Linked DNA regions of Homo sapiens: region 2 is linked to region 1. The links are contacts of gene promoters, found by promoter capture Hi-C in human tissues and cell types (Jung and others, 2019). All regions are on one chromosome and are shown on one strand. Each heading gives the region's core, a stretch centred on a gene start or on the middle of the fragment in contact. The rest is flanking DNA. Distances are from core to core; before and after follow the strand shown.

Region 1 (5,710 bases), core at 3,114-5,613:
AAGAACTCAGACAAAATATTCTTAAGGTACGAGCATTAAATAACACCTCAAAGGTGCTTTATTTGCCATTTGTTATTTTATAGATTAAAACATGCTTCCCATACCGGAAGAGAGCCTCCTATGTTTCAAATCAGTGCCTACTTCAAGCCTTAAAATGTTATCACAAAACTTAAGCTGCTCCTACTATGTTATAAATAAAATCTAGAGAACTTTACAGAAATCCAACATAGCAGCATGTTCTGAGAAATATAATCGCTGTTGTACAGGACAAGCCCCAAGTTCCACTATGGAAGCAAGCAACTGTATCCTAAACAAAAAACTCCTTAATATTAAGCTTCTAGAATACTATCTGTGGCATGACAATTACTAAATATGTGCTTAATGAATAAGTAAGTAAGATCCACCAAGTGATCTCATAATTGGCATATGTAAAAAATTTTAGACGTTTTAAAAATTAAAACTACTGGCATTTTTCAACAGGTGTCAGTAGCTCCTGGCCAGCACTTCAGCTGCTGGTCAGAGCACCGTGCCTAAAATATCCCAGCTATGCAGAGGCAGAGATTCCTAAACAGAAGCCTGTTTGGCATAGGATGGGGCTAAGGAAGGCAGAGTGATGCTAAAATTAATGTGGGAAACAATTAGCAAGAGGAAATCACTCTAATAACTAAAGGAAGCCAAAGGAGCAGTGGTGGATCGACTCCTGGTGTATATCTGAATAAGGAGAAAGTGTAATTATAATTGCCTTTTAAGCCTATTTTTTTTTCCTTGATAATACCAAACTTCATCCAATCTTTAAAAAAGTCGATTAATCTGTTTAGATTTTGAAGATTCTATATTCTGCTAAATCCTTTATGAAAACCCTGTGCAGAAAATCTGCATTTGATACCAGAGCACAACTTAGCATTTCATGATTTGAGAATCATTTTTTTCTAAAGCGGCAAGCAGTTTTTTTCAATTGACCCTAAAAAATTAAAGTCTGATGTGAAACAGCAGAAAGATTGCTATTTTAGAACATATTCAAGAATACAAAAAATGGCAATTTAAGACTGTTTCAAAGAATCAAACTGAGGCTCATGCTTCTAGGATAGTATCAGTCATTACCAATATTTCACTCATTAGAAAGCATGGCAGGACTGCGGTTGTGTAAATTGGTACTGTCCTCTCTGAAGGACAATATGACAACATTTTATAAAAATTTCACTTACACTTTCTAGCCAGAACTTGCACTTTCAGTAATCAATACAAAAGATATACTTGGAGATGCATATTACTAAAGACAAAACCAAAAAACCAAACACGAAAAAATCCTAAGAAAACTTACTAAGCACTACGTGTTTTATGTATCCAACCTCTTCATGACTGTCCTACAGAAGTAAATTACTGGCCCATTTTAGAGATGGAGAAAACAGATGAAGATAAGTAAATGTCACTAGTATTTAATGGAAGTGGAACTTGAACTTCAGAATCCACACTTCTAACTACAACACTATGCTGCCTTGCCAGAGCAGAACAGAACATTCGAAATAACCTACTTGGCCATCAATAAGTGATATGAAAAATTAATAAACCCAAACAACGGAATATAGTCGGTCCTCCTTATCCATGGCTTCTTGCATCCATGGACTAAACCAACCCAGGATCAAAAATTGTTGGAGGGGGGGACAAAAAAACACAATAATAAAAAATACTACTAATAAAAAACTATAACAACTATATTAACTATTAACATAGCATTTACATTGTAATATCATAAATGGAGATGATTTGAAGTATATGGGATGTTAGTAGGTTATATGCAAATACTACACTATTTCATATAAGCGACTTGAGCATTCGTGGTTTTGGTTCTGGAACCAATTCCCCTTTAATATCAAGGGACAATTGTACAGTACAACTTTAAACAAGAATACAACATTTGTACTAACATGGAAAATCTCCAGGTTAAGTGCAAAAAAGTTGGAGTTTTAAAAAAGAATGCTCTTTCTCTATATATTTACGAGTTCTTGAATAAGCTTAAAATACCTGTGGCGTACACATGAAACTGGTGATACTGGTTACCTCTGGAAAGTAGGTATGCAGGGCAAGTGAGGCCTACCTTTTTGTACTGTTTGATATATATATATACATACACACACACACACACACACACACACATATTTTAACTCGGGACATAAATGTACACCACCTATTCAAAGTAAAAACTACTATCTCAGAAGTAAAGACATAATCCTGCTATTGTCATTAACTAGCAGTTAAGCTGCCTAACCTTTATGCAGTTCAGTTTCCCTACTATGAAAACCTGAAAGGTTGAAATCTGGTGGTTTACCTAACCTTTGAAAACGTCAATACCTAACTCAGATCAGAACGGAGCTACCTCTTCAGGGGAGTAGGGGGAAGGATCTCTGAAGATATTTCTAACCCTGCACACTAGAAATCTCCTCTGTTTTGGTTCTAACATCCTTTGACCAAGAGTTTTACAATCAGACAGTCGTAGGTTCAAATTAAGCTCCCTCTTTGCTCAGTTGTTTTGTAACGGTGAATAAGTTACTTCTCAACTATAAACTGGGATAATATTCATCAAAAAAGATTATGAAAATTAAATACAAGGGCACACCTAACATAGTGCCACTGCTGATGCGAAAAGTAACTCTGAAGACAATCTTGCAGCAAAACATTAACCAGCCAGTATAATCATGCCTAACAACTCTGGTTTGACATTTAAACTAAAAACACAACCTTATTTCTCAAGAATTAGAAAATTTCCATTCTGTACCAAACTGTAAAAGCGTTTCTTAGAATTTGTATGTTTCACAAAATAATTCACCAGAAATTCTTTTGTAATTCTGACTTGTGTATAAAAAAAAGCACTATGTCTATTAGTTATGCACTGCTGTCACCTCAACTATACAAACTGTTAACTTATTTGAAGATCAGATATGGCGTATGTCCTCATCAATGCCTTTCCAAAAATAATTAGTTGCCTCCGACATTAACAAAGGTATTTAATGACTTCACGATTTGAGAAACCTTCTCCTGCCTGTCTCCAAAATTCTATAGACTCGCACTGCCCGCTGGCATTTACACCCAATTTAAGAAAATAGAAATTTTTGCCTGAAAACCAATTACTCTTCTAACCAGTATAATGACAACAAAGATTAACTTTCCCTTGCAAAAAGAAGCCGATAAACACAAGCCTTTCCCAGAAACTCTTCGCACAAACGCTGTTTTTTTTTTCACGCTGAAGACACTAACAAATCAGAGTGACCAAGTAAATCCCCCAGGGTTTCCCTCTTACAAATTTGAAGAAGGCCGCTAAGTCTGGCAGCACAACCCGACAGTGTCACCCCACACTATCAAAGCGGATCATTCGCAAAAAGCCTTTTTCAGCGACGAAAAGGGCATCAAGCATTTATCAGAAACACACACCTCCCCCAGAGCGTCTCTACAACACCCGATATCCTTAATCACTTTAAAGAATGATCAGAAAAGTTCAGGGGAAAACCAATTATGCAAATATCCTTGGAAAAAGAAGCAACTTCCCTCCGTCTCTTTTTCCACGCGTCTGTGAAATATTCAGCATTCCCAACGTAAAAATTATCTTTTTAAAACGGGAGGGCAGCAGCAGTCACTGGCCGAGGGGCACCCGCCGACCCCCCGCCCCACCCCGCCCAGCCCCACCAGCTCCGCACTTTCTTGAGCCCCGCACCCGAGTTCGGCGGAAGGTTGCTGCTCCCGGGGCTGGCACCGCGGGCGCCGGGCCCGCCACCGCCTCCTCCCAGACAGCCATTTTTACCCGCGGAGTAGGCGGCCCGGTCCCCAGAGCGGGCTCGTTCAAACCTCCTCCCCTCCCTCCGCAGCCCAGGGTTTCCCCGGCCTCCTGGGGGACGTGAGATGGACCTGCAGGGTAACAGCCTTTGTAGATCTCAGAATGGATCAGAATCATTTGTTACCGAACAAGCGATGATGCGGGCCCAAGCTGCATGGGTCCGGGCCGAGGGCGGGCCCGGGGCGAAGGGGGCTGGGCGGGTGGCGCCGCCGCTTGGGCGCCGGGAGGGTGGCAGCACGCGTGGGCGCGGCGAGGGCTGCCTTCTCCCTCGCCCTCCCGCCCCCAGGAGTCCGGCTCCCCGACGGCAGAGCGGCGGGGAAAGGGTGGGGGGAGGGAGCTGGAGGAAAAGAAGGGGTCGGCCGAGTCTCTTACCTTGCTCTCCGCTGGGAGTTGGGCGGGCTGGGTGGCCCGGGGAGGGGAAAAGGGTCGGGGGAGGGGGTGGGGAAAGGGGGGAGCCCTTGCGAGGTGTAGCTTCCGAGCAGCTCCCGCCGCCGCCACAGCCGGCGCCTCCTTTCCGATTCACTCAAACAAACAAGATGGCTGCCGTTACGCCGCGGCTCTTCCTGCCGCCCAAATCCTCGGTTCAAATCGGCAGGATGTTTACGGTCAAAATGGTACCTGTGCGCCTGCGCAGCCAGCCCAAGCCCCCCCCTCCCCCCAGAAGGAGCGGCGCAGGCGCAATGACTATTTCCTTTTCTTTGGAACCCGCCCTCTGTTTGTGGAGTCCACAACTGAGCAAGCGCAAAGGTGATTCTCTTGCGAGGGTCTTTGAGAGTTGCGGTGTTAGCCAATAGCGTAAGATAGCGCACGCGCAGTGCTTTCCAGTGCGGTGAATATTTGCGTTTAGCTTTATTCTTGTGCTTGTTTTAAAGAAAAAAGCTGTCGTGGTGCAATTTTGTGTGCCCCCACCAAAAAATTCATTTTATGGCTCTATAGGGATGAAAGTAACATAAAAACCTCAAACTAATTCCATAAAATATAGAGGTTCATTTATTCAGTCAACCTATATTATAGAGGGTCTTCTGTTTGCTACACGTTGGGCTCTGGATATAATGATTAATATAACAGAGATAATAACTGCCTTTTGGAAATTTTCAGTATTGCTTGGGAGGAATCTTAAAATTTCTTATCTTAAAAGACTTACTTGTACCACGAAGAAATTTACTTTTGTTTTTATTGTAGAGATCTTTCCAGTGATGAAAGAAATTGAAGAGGACACACAAAAATGGAAATATATTCCATGTTCATGGATTGGAAGAATCAATATTGTTAAAATTTCCATACTACCCAGAGCAATCTACAGATTCAATGTAATCCCTATCAAAATATCAATGACATTCTTCACAGAAAGAGGAAAAAAATCCTAAAATTTATATGGAACCACAATAAGACCAAGAATAGCCAAAGCAATCCTGAGCAAAAGAATAAAGCTGGAGGCATCACATTACCTGACTTCAAATTATACTACAAAGTGATAGTAAACAAAACAGCATGGTGCTGGCATAAAAACAGACACATAGACTAACGGAACAGAATAGAGGACCTATAAATAAATCAATACATATACAGTCAACTAATTTCTGACAAAGCTGCCAAGAACATACGTTGGGAAAAGGATGGTCTCTTCCAAAAATTGTTCTGGAAAAACTAGATAACTATATGTAGAAGAATGAAACAGATCACTATCTTTTGCCATATTAAAAAAATCAAAACAAAATGGCTTGAAGACTGGAATCTAAGATTTGAAACTATTGAAACTACTAGAAGAAAACGTTAGGGAAATGCTCCAGAACCAAATATTTCTTAGTAAGACCTTAAAAGCATAGGCAAGCAAAGCAAAAATGGACAAATGGGATCATGCCAAGCTAAGAACCTTCTGCAAAG
Region 2 (5,511 bases), core at 1,681-4,180, 1.3 Mb before region 1:
ACTCTGCTTAAGAAAATGAGTTCTTCTTACAAATCAATTTCTCTAAAGAATAAACTATACTGCATATGCAATATAAAGTAAGCTTATTATACTATTTACCTTGTATCGGACATGTACTGTATTCCATATATGTGATAAAATTGCCACTTGCTTTTCTCCTAATTTTTTGAATCTATCATTAAATATGTCAATTTACAATTTAGAAGTTAATCCTTAAATATTTCTAGGATATTTTTCCCACGCATTTTTTATAAGCCAAATTATTTTATACCTTAAAAATTACCCCTTTAGATAGCAGTGACTTGGACGTTAAATACCATTTGTTATAAACCATGTACTTTCTCATTTAAATAACTGGAAATATACTACATGAAATTATCCCAAAAAGATGATAAAGCAATAGAATAATATGTACAAGGAAGTCCTTCAAAATGTCCTTTATAATTAAAAATTGGAAGTAGCCTAATTGTTCATTAATAAGGAATGTCTTAAACATACTAGGATGTCACTATTCCATGGTATAATGAGGCACAAAAATGAACATTGTGGGATGTATTTGTTGATGAGAAAAGATGTCCACAATACACTGAAAAATTAAAAAAGAAAATTATAAAACAGGGAGGTACATGATCCTATACTTGAATAAAATATATATTTAAATATACATAAAGGATACATTAGATGCCAAAATATGAACACGAAAGTATTTACAGGTTGGAATTTATGAGTGGTTTTCATCTTCTTTACAGTATATTGTATTATCCAACTCTTTCGCAATAAGCATGTATCACTTATGTAATTTCAAAAAGGTATTTTGTTTTGTACATACACACATAAAAACGTGTATGCTTAGATGAAACAAATTAATTCTGAAACTGTAGAAAGTCACCCAAGTATTTATTAGCAAACCATATTGAACCAAAAGAGGCTATGCAATGGTTATGAGCAGGGACTCTAGAATTGCCAGAGCTAGAATTTAATGTCTGCCATTATAAGCAGTGTGATCTAGGCAAAATACTTAATATCCAAGCCTCAGTTTACTCATTTAAATGATGGGGATAATAATAGTTTCAACCTCAAAGAGTTCTGGTGAGGATGAAAGGAATCCATCCAGTAATAAATTAATGGAAAGGTAGTAAGCTTAATCCTAGAAACTGAATGCTAAATTGACAACCAGTTATAAATATCCGTCTATTTTAACCAAATATTTTTTGTAATGCTTTCCTATACAATTGTTTTAAAGTAGTTTCACCAGATTTTCTTTTCTTCATTAAGAATTCAAATTTAACACCTACAAACAGGTATTCTTGTGTTACCCAATGTATATAGCTACAATCAGAAAGTTAATTCCCTGAGATTCTATGTGCTTTGTCTACCAAGACTTTTTTTATGATCAAGCATCAGTCTTGTATAAAAATTTAAACTAAATGTAACACTACAGGCAAATGCAATTCAATAAATCATGTTGTCAGGGATCTTATCACTTCCTTCACACAAAATATCATTTTAACCAGAAATCTATTTTAAAAATCTTTTCCATTTTGTACCTAAATTCTCATAAAAGTTTGATTCATAATCAGTACCTTTTTTAATGGTAGCAAAAATTATAAAGTGTATTTTGCCTTTAAAAATAGATATCTATAGTGTATATACTTAGCATTTTCTGGTTATTCATGATGTTACACATATATAAATTTCCATGGTAGAAAATGGTTTATCCTTTTCCTAATTAATATGTCCAAAGTAATTCTTCAAAATTAAGAAACTGCCTTGTTTAAAAGAGGCAAGTTAACATATAAAATTACAAGTGAGAGGGAGGCATTTAATCATTCTGAGATGAACAATGATGCCAAACGCTCAATTTATCACAAGTGTGCTGTCATCAGAAAAAAACAAAACTAAGATTCCTTTGCTTCACTCCTAACCACTGATATAAAGCTGTGTTCCAGACTTCCTTGTATTTGTAAATTATAGTTCATAATAAAAGTCTATAAGTAGTATTGCTTCTCCAAAAGGAAAAAGGGTCTTCAAACATCAATGAAACAATTTGCCTTTCCTTAAACTGATAACACAACTAGATACAGCAGTACCTAGCTTGCCAAGCTTCCTTGAGTTAACAAGCAGAGCAGTCTACTAATCAATGCCTTTGCTTACAAACACTTAAGGAAAGTTTTGAACAGTATCTAATGGAAGGGAGAGAAGAAAAAAAAAAAATATATATATATATATATATGAGAGACAATGGAGATAATATTTACCTTTTTGGTGAAAATAACAAAATCCCCAAAAATCCAAAATAAAACCTCGTTGTGGCATTTTAGGTATTAATGTGCCTGTAAAATGGACCCATCAGACTGGGCTCTGCCGGAAAATTACCAGATTCACATCAACACTACATACCTCATTTTTGAATCATTCTGGCCCTGTGCTCCTGAAACTTGGGCCACCTTCTGTATACTCTTCACTTCCAACATCTAAGAATGCTCAACAATGGGTTCTTTTGGGGGCCCTGTTATGTCCTGACTCATGCAGTCCATGGAAAAGAGAAGCCAAGCAAAAGATAGTTATATAGGAAATAATGAACAGATACTGCACTAAAGGATAACATTTCACAGTAGCTGCAAACCTACAGTCCAATTCACTAAGATACATCTGCTTCACCTGCTTTAGAAACCTGGGCCAGCAGAACTATGCCAGACCTCACAAACAGCCTAGGTTACAAAAACATTGTTGTTGTCGTTTTTCAAGTGCTATTAATGTGGGTGGGAGTGTAAACTAGGGCAGCCACTATGGAGAACAGTATGGAGGCTCCTCAAAAAAACCGCAAACAGAGCTACATACATGATCTAGCAATCCCTCTCCTGAGTATTTTTCCAAAGGAAAGGAAATTAGTATATTAAAGAGACACCTGTACCCCCATGTTCACTGCAGCACTATTGACAATAATCAAGATACGGAATCAGCCTAGGTGTCCAACGACAGATAAATGAATAAACAAAATGAGGTAAATACACACAATGGAATATATTCAGTCATAAAAAAAGAATAAAATTCTGTCACTTGCAGCAACGTGAATAGAACAGGCGAACGTTATTTTAAGTGAAATAAGCCTGGAATAGAAAGTTAAACACTGCATGTTCTCACTTATATGTGGAAGCTAAAAAAAAAAAAAATTTATCTTGTAGAAACCAAAAACGGAAGAGAAGATATTAGAGGATAGGAAGGGTAGGGGGAAAGGGAGAATAGGCAGAGATTTGTTGAAGGATATGAAGTTATAGCTAGACGGGAGGAGTAAGTTTCAGTGTTCTGTAGCACTGTAGGACGCCTGTACTTAACAGTAGTATGTAGTTTCAAATAGCTGGAATAGTGAATGTCCCTAATACAAAGAAATTACAAATGTTGAGGTGATGGATATACAAATTACCCTAATCCTTCCACCACACATTATATGTATCACAACAGCACTATGTTCCCCACAATATGTACAATTATTGTGTGTGCATTAAAAAAAAAGTGCTTTAAAAAATGTGTGGGTTAATGAAGCAGACTTATAGAAAAGAAATTAGATTGCTTAAAAATCTCATTAATCAAACTAATAAAACCAAACTTCTATACCTATGGAATATGGAACGAATTTGACAACTTTCTACTGTCAAAAATGGTATATAAATGTAAAAGATGAATAATCAATAAATAAGAAAAAGCTACTTCACTTTTACACGGTAAAACAGAACTGTCATGTTCACTATTACACATAATGAATTTGATACATGGATTGTATTTTTAAAATCTAAACTAAAACATATTTGAGTTTAAATCATATATTTTTCAAATAGATGTCAACAGAAATACATCTATATGGCACAGAAGCAGAGACATGTACAAGGATTTTTCATCTCTGCATATAGTCAATAGTTTTTAATCATTTATTTTACTCTCAGGCAAAGAAAATATCAACTGCTACCTAAAGAGAAACTACCAACAGGGCCTAAAGTCATGGCTTCATAACCAGTGTTTAGAGAGGTATATACTTCCCATTTTTCCTGATATAGTCTGATCTCTTTGGTATTTTACTTATGCACATGTAAAAAGTCCAAATCGGGTGAGAAAACAGTTATGTACATAAACATTAAGTCAGTGCTACCTCTTTGATAACTGGAATTTTGCTTTCATTTTAATTAAATATGAAGCAAAACAATGAATATCACTTTTCACTTCAGACCATCTTTAGTTAAAAAAAAGCTCCTGCAGTCTTCTGTCAGTGGTTGTAAAGGCATTCAACATTGTCACTTGTTTAAACGTCTGTTTGGCTGCCAATGGACTGTCCCCAAAAGAACATTTTTGCATCTCAATAGTCTGTCCGGTATCAACAATCTTTAAACTATAAATTTAACGCTGCTGAAGAAAAGGGGAAATAACATTCTCATTGTACTGTCCTGGTATCACACTTACAAAATGAACAAATAATCAGACTATTTCCACTTATCTAGCACTCTGCATCTGAGGATCTCAAATGGCCTGACAAACGTTAATTAACTAAGCTGCACAACACTCCTGTGAGGGTGGCAGGCAGCATGATCCTCTCCAAGCGACAGATGAACGGAGATCCTGGGAGGCCCTTCCTTTGAAAGTCAGTGGCTCAACTTGGAACTCAACTTCCAGAACTTGGAACTCAACTCCCCAGGCCCATGGTTGAGCATCTCCGCTGAAGCCAAGTAGCACAAAATGTAGATGTTACAACTGACAGACTTTTCTAAAGAAATTTAAACTGGAAACCAAGATCAATCTCAAGGAGATTTATCTTTCCTCTAGCTGCAAGAAAAAAGTGCTCTAATAACTACAGCATTTGAACCTATGGAAGAACCTGAGCTACAAGTTATCTATAACATTCCGTTTTGACAAATAACATGGAGGAGTTTACCTGAATGTTGATTTTCCATGAGCTCCCCCTAAAGACTCACCCAATAAGCTTAACTGTACTTCCGTATTTTATTAACAAATGAAAAACTACACAATGTTGGTTAATTTTTTTGTGAAATTTAATGATCGATTTTTGGATCCTTATTCATGTAGTTATCAGATAAAAAGCCAAGTTTTCTGCAATGGAATATCCAATCTAAAAATTCCATTACAAAAATAAAATCCAGAATTTCTTATTCAGGAAACAATAAAATTAATACAGTTGCATCTGCATAAATTTATCTAAAAAATAAATACCTTTGTGTAGATGTACATCATAAAAAAAAAACTTGTCAGAAAAGTATACAACTTTACATGAATGCTGACTATACTATACTACTTAGTTTAAAATGATTAAGAAACATCTATTGGAATATATAAAATAATTTACTTATACTGTTGGTACAGGTAATTTTAAACATGTTAACCTCTTCACAGACCTAAACTTTAAATAAAAACACTGGGTTTTCAAAATATTATTAGTAAATGTTGGTAACCATTTTCAGGAGGTGATTCATGTTCTATAAGATCTATTCTAGAAATGTTAAGATA

What was found. The method cuts DNA at HindIII sites, captures the fragments that hold promoters and counts their contacts. A contact is called where the count stands out against the background at its distance.
Region 2: a fragment that was not itself captured here is called in contact with the fragment with the promoter of RAD21 in region 1 in 1 of the 25 tissues and cell types used here (dorsolateral prefrontal cortex).

The regions. Positions count from the first base shown.
Region 1 is chr8:116,870,413-116,876,122 of GRCh38, forward strand. RAD21 (RAD21 cohesin complex component) reads right to left here and starts at 4,364. Exons shown (of 14, transcript NM_006265.3): 1 at 4,199-4,364. It overlaps RAD21-AS1 (RAD21 antisense RNA 1), which reads left to right and starts at 4,012. Exons shown (of 2, transcript NR_033886.1): 1 at 4,012-4,573; 2 at 5,009-5,710. MIR3610 (microRNA 3610) reads right to left here and starts at 4,388; the gene lies at 4,316-4,388. RefSeq lists silencers at 3,672-3,721, 3,882-4,201 and an enhancer at 4,312-4,361. The HindIII fragment of the contact is 11,155 bases long and covers 1,174-5,710 here.
Region 2 is chr8:115,578,033-115,583,543 of GRCh38, forward strand. The region is part of intron 5 of TRPS1 (transcriptional repressor GATA binding 1); the gene reads right to left. Among named protein-coding and RNA genes, the nearest start is that of TRPS1-AS1, 71 kb to the left of the region's middle. The HindIII fragment of the contact is 4,638 bases long and covers 612-5,249 here.